2 separate regions of the Homo sapiens genome follow, and region 1 is linked to region 2. The links are contacts of gene promoters, found by promoter capture Hi-C in human tissues and cell types (Jung and others, 2019). All regions are on one chromosome and are shown on one strand. The core of a region is centred on a gene start or on the middle of the fragment in contact, and the rest is flanking DNA. Distances in the headings are between cores, read along the strand shown. Region 1 overlaps ZNF569 (zinc finger protein 569). Region 2 holds the start of ZNF382 (zinc finger protein 382).

Region 1 (5,254 bases), core at 2,082-4,581, 850 kb before region 2:
GCGAATCACCTGAGGTCAGGAGTTTAGGACCAACCTGGCCAACATGGTGAAACCCTGTCTCTACTAAAAATACAAAAATTAGCCAGGCATAGTGGTGCATGCCTGTAATCCCAGTTGAGGCTGAGGCAGGAGAATTGCTTGAACCCAGGAGACAGAGATTGCAGTCAGCCAAGATCGTTCCACTGCACTCCAGCCTGGGCTGGAGTCTCCAGTGAAACTCTGTCTCAAAAACAAACAAACAAACAAAAAAACACTACCATCTTCCTAGCTCACTACCATCTTCCTAGCTGTTTTCCATTTGCTTCGTATGCAAATAGAAAATTTTTTTATTTCTTTGTTTTGTTTCTTCTCTTCTCCCCTCCTTTGTCTGATTACTACGGTTTTCATTGAGCATTTTATATTATTTCATTTTATCTCCTGTTTACTTTATCATTTATACTTCTTTTAAAAAATTTTAGTGTCACCCTAGAGTTTTCAATGTGTATTTTTAAGTAATCTAAATTCACTTTTGAAAATGCTATACTGCTTCATATGTAGTGCAGGAACTTTACAACAGTATTCCCAGTTCCCCCTTCTTCTCCGTTGTTATGTCACTTGTGATGTCCCTGTCATTCATTTCACTTATCCGTGTGCTGTAATCACCTAATACATTGTTATCATTATAGCCTTTAACAAACATTTATCTTTTAGATCAATTACTAATAAAAGAACCAAAAGATTTTATCTTACCTTCATGATTTTGTCTCTGGTGCTCTTCCTTTCTTTATGTAAATCCATGTTTCTGACCTATATTGTTTTTCTTCTGCCTAAATAACTTTTTAACATTTCTTACAGGGTAGGTCTGCTGGTGATGAATTCCCTTAGTTTTTGTTAGAAATGAAAGTCTTCATTTCTCCTTCAACTTTGAAGGATAATTTCCCTGGATAGAGAGAATTCTAGGTTGGTGGCTCTTTTTCATTTAATGCTTTAGATATTTCACACCACTTTCTTCTTGTTTATATAGTTTCTGACAAGAAGTCTGCTGTAATTTTTATCAGTGTTGTTTTATAGGTAAGGTGTTACTTTTCTCTGGGTTCCTTGACTATCTTTTCTTTGTTTTTTTTTGTTGTTGTTTTTTCAGTTTCAATATGATATACACGTGTGGTTTTTTTTGGTATTTATCTTGCTTAGTGTTCTTTGCGCTTCCTCAGCCTATGGTTTGGTGTGTGTCACTAATTTGAAACATTCATGGACATTATTACTTACAATATTTCATCTGTGTTCTCTTTTTTCTCCTTTTGGTTTTCTAATTGGGAAAATAGATGTCTGTTTAATAGATACATGTTTTGATATTGTCCCATGGTTTGGATGTTCTCCCATGGTTTGGATGTTCTCTTTTGTTTTTCATTCTTTTTCCTCTGTGCATTTTAGTTTGGGAAGTTTCTTTTGAAGTTTCTATTTTCAGGTTCACTGATTGTTTCCTCTACTGTGTTGAGTTTGTTGATGAGTCCATTGAAGGCATTCTTTGTTTTTATTAATATGTTTTTGATTTCTAGCATTTCTTTTGATTCTTTCTTATAGTTCGCATTTCCCTGCTTACAGTACCCATCTCTTTTTCTAACTTTCTCATAGAGCACTCAAAATATTAATCATAGTTATTTTAAATTCATTGCACAAAATTACTGCACATCTTTTCTTATATAGGTTGTGCTGGGCCATGAAACATCAAACCATATGACCAGTCCCTGCCATAAGTGGTTCACAGTCCTACTTAGATAAATCAGTGGGTGCACTGGCAGAGTGATAAATGCCACAAGATGGTTAAGCTCATGAGATACAGAAGTACAAATAGATCTACATAGACGGATATCCCAATCAAATGATAAAGTTGTTCTTAATCTGATCTCTTTAAGAACAAGAAGGTATTGGTCAAAGGCAAGAAGGAACTGATGATCAGCAATCAAGAGATAGTTTTTAGGCATGGAAACGTAATATACAGTAACTGTTAAGGAGCAATGCTTTGTATATTTTAAGAAAGGTATGTAATTATGTATGGCTGGAGTTTACTTTCAAGGAGTGAAAGATGAAGCTAATGAGGTATTCAGAAACAAAATTATAAAAGTTGTCATTGAAGTAATTTAAGGTAATACTCATGTAACAAACAAGCACATGTACCCCTTGAATCTAAAATAAAATACACTTTTTAAAAAGGACTCCATAAAGAATATAAAAATATCAGGCTGGGCATGGTGGCTCAGGCCTATAATCCTAGCACTTTGGGAGGCCAAGGTGGGCAGATCACTTGAGCCCAAGTGTTCAAGACCAGCCTGGGCAACATGGCAAAACCCCATCTTTACCAAAAATATCAAAATTAACCAGGCATGGTTGTGCATGCCTGTGGTCCCAGCTACTTGGGAGGCTGAGATGGGAGAATCACTTGAATCTCGGAGATGAAGCCTGCAGCGAGCCATGCGCTCCTCCAGCTTGGGCAACAGAGCGAGACTCTGTCTCCAAAAAAAAAGAATATAAAAATATCTAAGATTTTCCAGTTTTATTTTGTTTATTCTTTTTTTTAATACTTTAAGTTCTAGGGTACATGTGCACAACATGCAGGTTTGTTACATATGTATACATGTCCCATGTTCGTGTGCTGCACCCATTAACTCGTCATTCACATTAGGTATATCTCCTAATGCTATCCCTCCCCCCTCCCCCAACCCCATGACAGGCCCCAGTGTGTGATGTTCCCCATCCTGTGTCCAAGTGTTCTCATTGTTCAGTTCCCATCCATGAGTGAGAACATGTGGTGTTTGGTTTTCTGTCCTTGCGATAGTTTGCTCAGAATGATGGTTTCCAGCTTCATCCATGTCCCTACAAAGGACATGAACTTATCCTTTTTATGGTTGCATAGTATTCCATGGTTATTTTGTTTATTCTTAAACATTATATACCAATTCCACATTCCATCACTCTCTTTTTCTTTCATATTTCCACATACCTCAGTTTCTCTGTTACCATAAGCCAGTAAATTTTGGGCAAGGGGAAAAAAAGAAGTTTAAACAGGGGAGTGTTACTTAAGATGCATTTTATAAGTATAGAATTCTCGATTAAATCCTCAATTTATTTTAAAATTGGTTTTAAAGGATATTGTTGCGACAACTAGGGAAGTATAGAGATAATATATTTTATTGTACGAATGTTTAATATCTTTGGTGTGATAATGGCATTGTGTTTATGTAGGAGGCTTCTTAGTTTTTGGAGGTACATTCTGAAAGAGTTAACGTGAAGTTTGTGTATATGTTTTTAGAGAAGGAAAGAGAGGTAGAAAAATGTGGCAATGCTGAATATAGATTAAGGGTTTTAGAAGTATTCTTTGTACTGATCTTCCAACATTTTTGTAGTTTGAGTTTTGTGTTTTTTGTTTTTTGTTTTTTTTTTTTTGAGACGGTGTCTCCCTCTGTTGCCCAGGCTGGAGTGCAATGGCGCGATCTAGACTCACTGCAACCTCCGCCTCCTGGGTTCAAGCGATTCTCCTGCCTCAGCCTCCTGAGTAGCTAGGATTACAGGCGCCTGCCACCATGCCCAGCTAATTTTTTGTATTTTTAGGAGAGGTGAGGTTTCACTATGTTGGCGAGGCCAATCTCGAACTCCTGACCTTGTGATCCGCCCACCTCAGCCTCCCAAAGTGCTGGGATTACAGGTGTGAGCCACTGTGCCTGGCCTCGAGTTTTTAAAAGTAATAAATTTTGGAAGAAAATTTCTAGAATGTATACATACAAGTATGTTTAGAGTGAACTAGAGGGAAGGAAAGTAGGAGGCAGTTAAACTGTTTTATGAAGCTTCAACTCCCTGTCTAAAGAAAAAGTTTTCTTAATGGAGAGCTCTGTGACTTAATGTTTAACTAACATAAGTGGGAGCTTCCTTCTCAAACATACGGGCCCTAAGAGAGAAGTAGAAATGTTAAGAGATAAAATATAAGACACTTAGATGATCAGTTTAAGGGATAGATCATCCTATTCTTAGGAATTATACGTAAGAGAAAGTAGAGAAAATGAAAACAAAAACGTGCAAGAAAATTTCCTAGAAGAGAACAATAAATATACGGATTGAAATGACCGTATGTCCGTGATATATACTGACCAAAAGCTCAGTGCGATTAATGAGAAAAACCCACACCAACTATCGGAAACCAATAAGAGAGAAGAAAGGCCAAAAACTTTCTACAGAGGAAAAAAAAAGTTGGAATGATCTAGAAGTAGAATGTCAATGTACAGCAACACTAGAAGTCACTGGAGCCACAAAGTGAAGTCACATTGCTTTAAATTTCTAAGGAAAAACTGTTTTTCTGAGAAGCCTACAGTTAGCCAAATTATTATTTGAGTATGAGAGTAGAATAAAAATGTTTTCAAACATGCCAACCAAATTAAAGAGAAAACAAAGTAAAGAAGCTTTTGAGAAATTAAATTTTTGATTCCTGTAGTTGCAACTGGCTTTGGCAACTTTAGATCCCAGATAGAGCGGTACCCACAGAGTTTAATGCTGTTCTTCCAGCCATCAGTGGGTGCCCTTATATAAGTGGGTCCAGCCCTTATATCCTTCTTTCATGTGTCATTGGCCCTTTTCCCTTGTGATTTAAACATGTGTTGCAAAGTGGTGTGGTAGGACCTGGAATCCGGGGACACATGGAAATAGTGGAGAGAAGACTAGGAAAGAGTTGGGGGTGGGGGAGAAAATACTGTTGTCCACCACAGAGCCATATCCCCAGTCTGTGAGTTAGTTCACGCTAACTAGAGAATTTCTGCCTTGAGAGATGCTGCCAGGTGTAGAGCTTTCAATGAGTTTTAGGTTTTTGGCAAAACGTGGATTCAAGCAAGTGGAGTGTTAAAAAATATATATTATTATGTAGATATGGCAGTTGCTGTAAGCATTTTAACTGTATCAGAGCTCATTTCAGGAGGGAATCATGCATGATAGTCCAGAAACTAAACAAATTGATATGGCTGGAAGTAAGTTCTTTGCAGTGGAAAGAAAAATAACATTTGTTATGAATATAACATTTAGTTTGTGAATTTATTTCTAAAGTATTTCCTCAATTAGCTTAAAGTTGAGTTCCTCCAGTATACTGAATTCCGTCTTTTCTGAGGCCTTACCAATTGCTACTGCTTTGCTTGTAATGCTTTCCCACTCCCACTCCATCCTAGCTAATTTACTTGACTTTAAACTGTTATCCTAATCCTAACTTTATTTGCAAGGTATTTTTGAGCCCCATGACAAA
Region 2 (4,811 bases), core at 73-2,572:
CCCAGTACTTTGGCAGGCCGAGGGGGCGGGGGGAGGGGATCACTTGAGGTCAGGAGTTCAAGACCAGCCTGGGCAACATGGTGAAACCCCATCTCTACTAAAAATACAAAAACTAGCCGAGCGTGGTGGCACAAGCCTGTAGTCCCAGCTACTCAGGAAGCTGGGGCAGGAGAATCACTTGAACTTCAGAGGTAGAGGTGGCAGTGAGCAGAGATCATGCCACTACACTCCAGCCTGGGCAAAAGAGCAAGACCTTGTCTTAAAACAAACAAAAAACAACAACAAAAGTGGTAGTTATGGTAAAAAAAAAAAAAAAAAAAAAATTTCCTGCATGTCCCCAATGGAATGCTATTCATTTCAACATACTGGTTTTAGTTAATATGGTGTTTCCAGGAAATGAATCTGGGAATTATGAAAATCATCTCTTCCCCTCTGATACTGTTATCTCTATTTTATTTGCTAAATTGCTACTTAGTTACAGTTTTGGAGGCAGGCTTAATGGCTACTATTCAGATAATCAAGTCTTACATAACCAACTAGCCATGGTCATAACAGAGTTCCTCAATCATTCAAATATTTAGGTCACTAAGGCCACAAAACCACCAGAAGTAACAGTAGGTTACAAACACATGCAGAGTCACAGTCAATCAAACATCCTTCAGAGAACCACCAACCTACAGGCCCCACTTGTCATTCACAACCTCAGACAGCAGCTAACACGACTCCAGGCAGTCACAACCACACCTACAAATCACTTGCAATTCTCCACACTCAAAGGCAGTCTCAAATGCGACTCACACCTAATCTAAAAATAGACACACGCAGAGGAAACCTCGCGCAGCAACACTACTCCGTTCACTTTTCACACACAATCGGCCACAACATCCCAAAGAGAGGCAAGCACCTAAAATGCAGCAGGTTGGGCGCAGGAGGCCACCCCTATTCAGCGCGCGCCCGCGCGCGCGAACACACAGCGCCCGCTCCGCGCGGGGACCCGCCGCCAGCGATGGCGCTTCCGCGGGATCAGAACGGGCAAAATCCCCCTTCGCGGAGCTCGCTCCGGGTCACCCTCAAGGTCACGCCCATGGACCACGCCCGAGGCCCGGCTCGTACAGATCGGAGCGTCTGGATACCGCGGTCCCGGTTTCCTCCTCAGAATTTCCAGGCCCGGCTCGGACTCTTGGTTACCTCCCTGGCCTCCCCACCCGGTTCCGCGTCCTTAGACAGCTCTCCCGGAACGGAGCTCCCAGTGCCCTCCTTGGCCTCCTCAGCACCCCTGGCACCCACCAAGCCTCACCCCCGGCCCAGGGTGAGTCGTCTGCGCCTGCGCACTCGCGCGTGGGCCTGAGCTCCCAGGAGTCTCCGGGGCGGCCCGTTAGTCGCCGCGCGGTGCTAGCTGCCGGCGCTCCCCTCCGTTTGCACCCACGGCCGCCCTATTGCGGCTGGCACTACGCTTCTGCCAGGACCCCGGCTCCCTTTTCCGTTGACCTGGTGTTCGTTTTCCATGTGGTGAGTTGAGGTGACCCGGGTCTGGATGCGAGAAGAGCTCACGGCAGGGGACCTGGGTTCATGGGACGCGGAGAGGGTTTGTGGAGGCAGAAGCCCCAGGCCTGTGTGCAAGTCACCTGCTGGGGAGGGAGACTGTGTGATTGTGTTTGTGTGTGCCGTTCTGTGGCTGCGTCCGTGTGTGGTGGTGTGAGTGGGCGCGCCTGTGATGGTCCCGGGGGGGCGGGGGGTGTGCACAGCAGGGGGTGTGTGTGCACAGCAGGTGCACAGCCCGGGACAGCCCTGACTGTCCCCGATTGGGCCCGCGGGACTGAGTGGGGGCGGGGCCGTTTGTGTGACGGCGCTGAGCGGTGACTATGAATGTGTCATGCTGTTATCAGTGATCCTGTGACAGCGCTGTTGTGACCCACTGGAGACTGTGATCAAAACTGGCCTGGTGCAGCTTTTGTAGAGTTTGATTTCTGCAGTTCTGGGGCTCAGGAATACGTGGACAAGGTCCCCGTATGGCTCGATCTGTGTCTGTGAAGACTCTGAGACCTTCTGTTCTAAAGCATGGCCCCTGTCGCTTTCATAATGCATAATACACAGTGGCATGCAGCCTCGCCAACCTCTGGGGCCAATTTTAAGTTACGTGGTTTCTTGGAGTTTGTTATACTGGGATTTCTTTCACTGCCTCAGTCATTTCACCTTATAACCACGTTGCACAGTGTGCAGTCAAATGGCTATCGAAAAGAAAGTTGGATATTTGAGATCCAGAATGAAGTTTCCAACTGAAAAAGCACAGCCTTGTGTTTCACATGGACAAGGCTGTGTTCTGATATGCACAGCCTCGTGTTTGATATGGAGATGTTAGAGCTGGAATTGCTCCCAAGGCAAGGTTCTGGGAAGATATGATATTGAGGCCCCAGGAGTAGGATTCGTTTCTCCAAAGATTTTGTGTGTGTGTGTGAGATGGAGTTTTGCTCTTGTTGCCCAGGCTGGAGTGCAGTGGCGCAATCTCGGCTCATTGCAACCTCCGCCTTCCGGGTTCAAGCAATTCTCCTGCCTCAGCCTCCCGAGTAGCTGGGATTACAGGCATGCACCACCATGCCCGGCTCATTTTTGTATTTTTAGTAGAGACGGGGTTTCACCATGTTGGTCAGACTGGTCTCGAACTCCTGACCTCAGGTGATCCACCCGCCTCGGCTTCCCAAAGTGCTGGGATTACAGGCGTGAGCCACCGTGCCTAGCCAAAAGATCCCTTTTGGAAGCTCTGTGGGGGCAAGTTGAATATTGCAGATCCACAGCATTTTCATAGCTGTCTAAAGGAAATTATTGTGAATACAGAAACATTTCAGTCCCAGGCTTTGGTGAACCTGACTTTTCTTTATGAAGGGAAGAGTCAACAATATTCCAGTCTTTCTCATACTTCCATCTGGTCATATTCAGCATGGGTTATGGAAGCTTGCCGGTGGTGAAGAATGTGTTCTTATTTAGCCTGTCTGGGCTCCAAGAAAGGCTGAGTATATTGTGATTCCCTTTCTTTCCACATTTTGCTGTATTCCAAGAGAAGAGCTCTGAGAGAAGAAAAGCATTGTAGTTGCACATTTTAAAGCAAAGCTGGAGGTCATTTTGATTTTTTTCTTTGTTTTATGAAATGCATTTTTGTTTTTCAGGATGTGGAATAACTTCATTTGAAATGCTCACCAAATAGTGACTTATCTATTTACCTGGTCTCTAGTCCTTCTCTTCCCAGTTACTGATGACATTATGAAGACAGATCTCCTTCTTTCCAGTACCTCATCAGATGCCCTTCCTAGAGTTAATTTTCATATAACACCTTGACAGTATGTTCACTTCTCCTGTGTGCTCTTTTTGTTTAAGCATTCTCATGACATAGAAATAGTCTGCCTTCACACGGTGATTTGTTACGGAGGAGACCAATTGCTTAGGTAGAATTACACATTAGATAGTTTAGATTTTCTTCAGAGACATGAGTGGAAAAACAGCAAGATAGGAGATCGTTTGAATGGTTATAGTAACTTTTTTTGTTTTAGAGGACCTTAGGAGTTAGAATATTATTGCAGAGTATGTGCAGAGAGAGCTGTTAAGAAGGGCAGGAAGTTTTTCCGAGGGGATACCTTAGGAGATTTATATGGTACCAGCTAGTTCTTGCATGAGGTTTGGCCGCATCACGTGTTTTTTTTTTTTTTTCTTTTGAGACGGAGTTTCACTTTTGTTGCCCAGGCTGGAGTGCAATGGTGCGATCTTGGCTCACTGAAACCTCCGCCTTCTGGGTTCAAGCGATTCTCCTCCCTCAGCCTCCCGAGTAGCTGGGATTACAGGCATGCGCCACCATGCCTGGCTAGTTTTGTATTTTTAGTAGAGACGGGGTTTCTCCATGTTGATCAGGCTGGTCCTGAACTCCCCCCACCTCAGGTGATCCACCTGCCTCAGTCTCACAAAGTGCTGGGATTACAGGCGTGAGCCACCGTGCCCGGCCAGGTGTTTTTTTCTTTTTTTCCCCCAAGTCACATAACTGTGTAGACTGTGTGAGTATGGTATAATGGTCTCTGGGTCTAGAACAGGGGTTTGCAAACTATGGCCCTGTGGGCCAAATCCAGCCTGTAGCCTGTATTTTTGTATGGCTTGTGAACTGATTGGTTTTAACTTTTTGTTAATAGTTGACCACGAAAAAAAAAAAAAGGAGAGTAATATTTCATGACATGTGAAAATTATATGCAATTTAAATTTGTGTCCATAAATAAAGTTTTGGATTTTGGCAATTAAAAATTTGTGGAGGTGGCCAGGCGCGGTGGCTCACACCTGTAATCCCAGCACTTTGGGAGGTCAAGGTGGGTGGATCACAAGGTCGGGAGTTCGACACCAGCCTGACCAACATGGCAAAACACCATCTCTACTAAAAATACAAAAATTAGCTGGGCATGGTGGCATATGCCTGTAATCCCAGCTACTCGGGAGCCTGAGGCAGGAGAATTGCTTGAACCTGGGAGGCGGAGGTTGCAGTGAGCCGAGATCGCGCCACTGCACTCTAGCCTGGGAGACAGTGAGAATCCATCTTAAAAAAAAAAAAAAATTGTAGCGTTCAGGTGCAGTGGCTCACGCCTGTAATCCCAGCACTTTGGGAGACTGAGGAGGGAGGACTGCTTGAAGCCAGGAGTTCCAGACCTTATCTCTAAAAAAAGGAAAAACAAAGGGGAAATTTTTCATCTCTCTTTTATATAAACTCCTATATAATATCCTTAATTTTGCCTTTTAGCTCACAAAGCCTAAAATATTTACTATCTAGTCCTTTACAGAAAAGT

The links. The method cuts DNA at HindIII sites, captures the fragments that hold promoters and counts their contacts. A contact is called where the count stands out against the background at its distance.
Region 1: a contact is called between a fragment that was not itself captured here and the fragment with the promoter of ZNF382 in region 2, in 1 of the 25 tissues and cell types used here (hippocampus).

Annotation. Positions count from the first base shown.
Region 1 is chr19:37,455,134-37,460,387 of GRCh38, reverse strand. All of the region lies in intron 2 of ZNF569 (zinc finger protein 569), which reads left to right. Among named protein-coding and RNA genes, the nearest start is that of ZNF569, 9.7 kb to the left of the region's middle. The HindIII fragment of the contact is 6,345 bases long and covers 159-5,254 here.
Region 2 is chr19:36,601,824-36,606,634 of GRCh38, reverse strand. ZNF382 (zinc finger protein 382) reads right to left here and starts at 1,322. Exons shown (of 5, transcript NM_032825.5): 1 at 1,288-1,322. It also overlaps a transcript of ZNF529 not described here. RefSeq lists enhancers at 871-930, 1,911-2,050 and a silencer at 1,291-1,350. The HindIII fragment of the contact is 9,037 bases long and covers 1-3,989 here.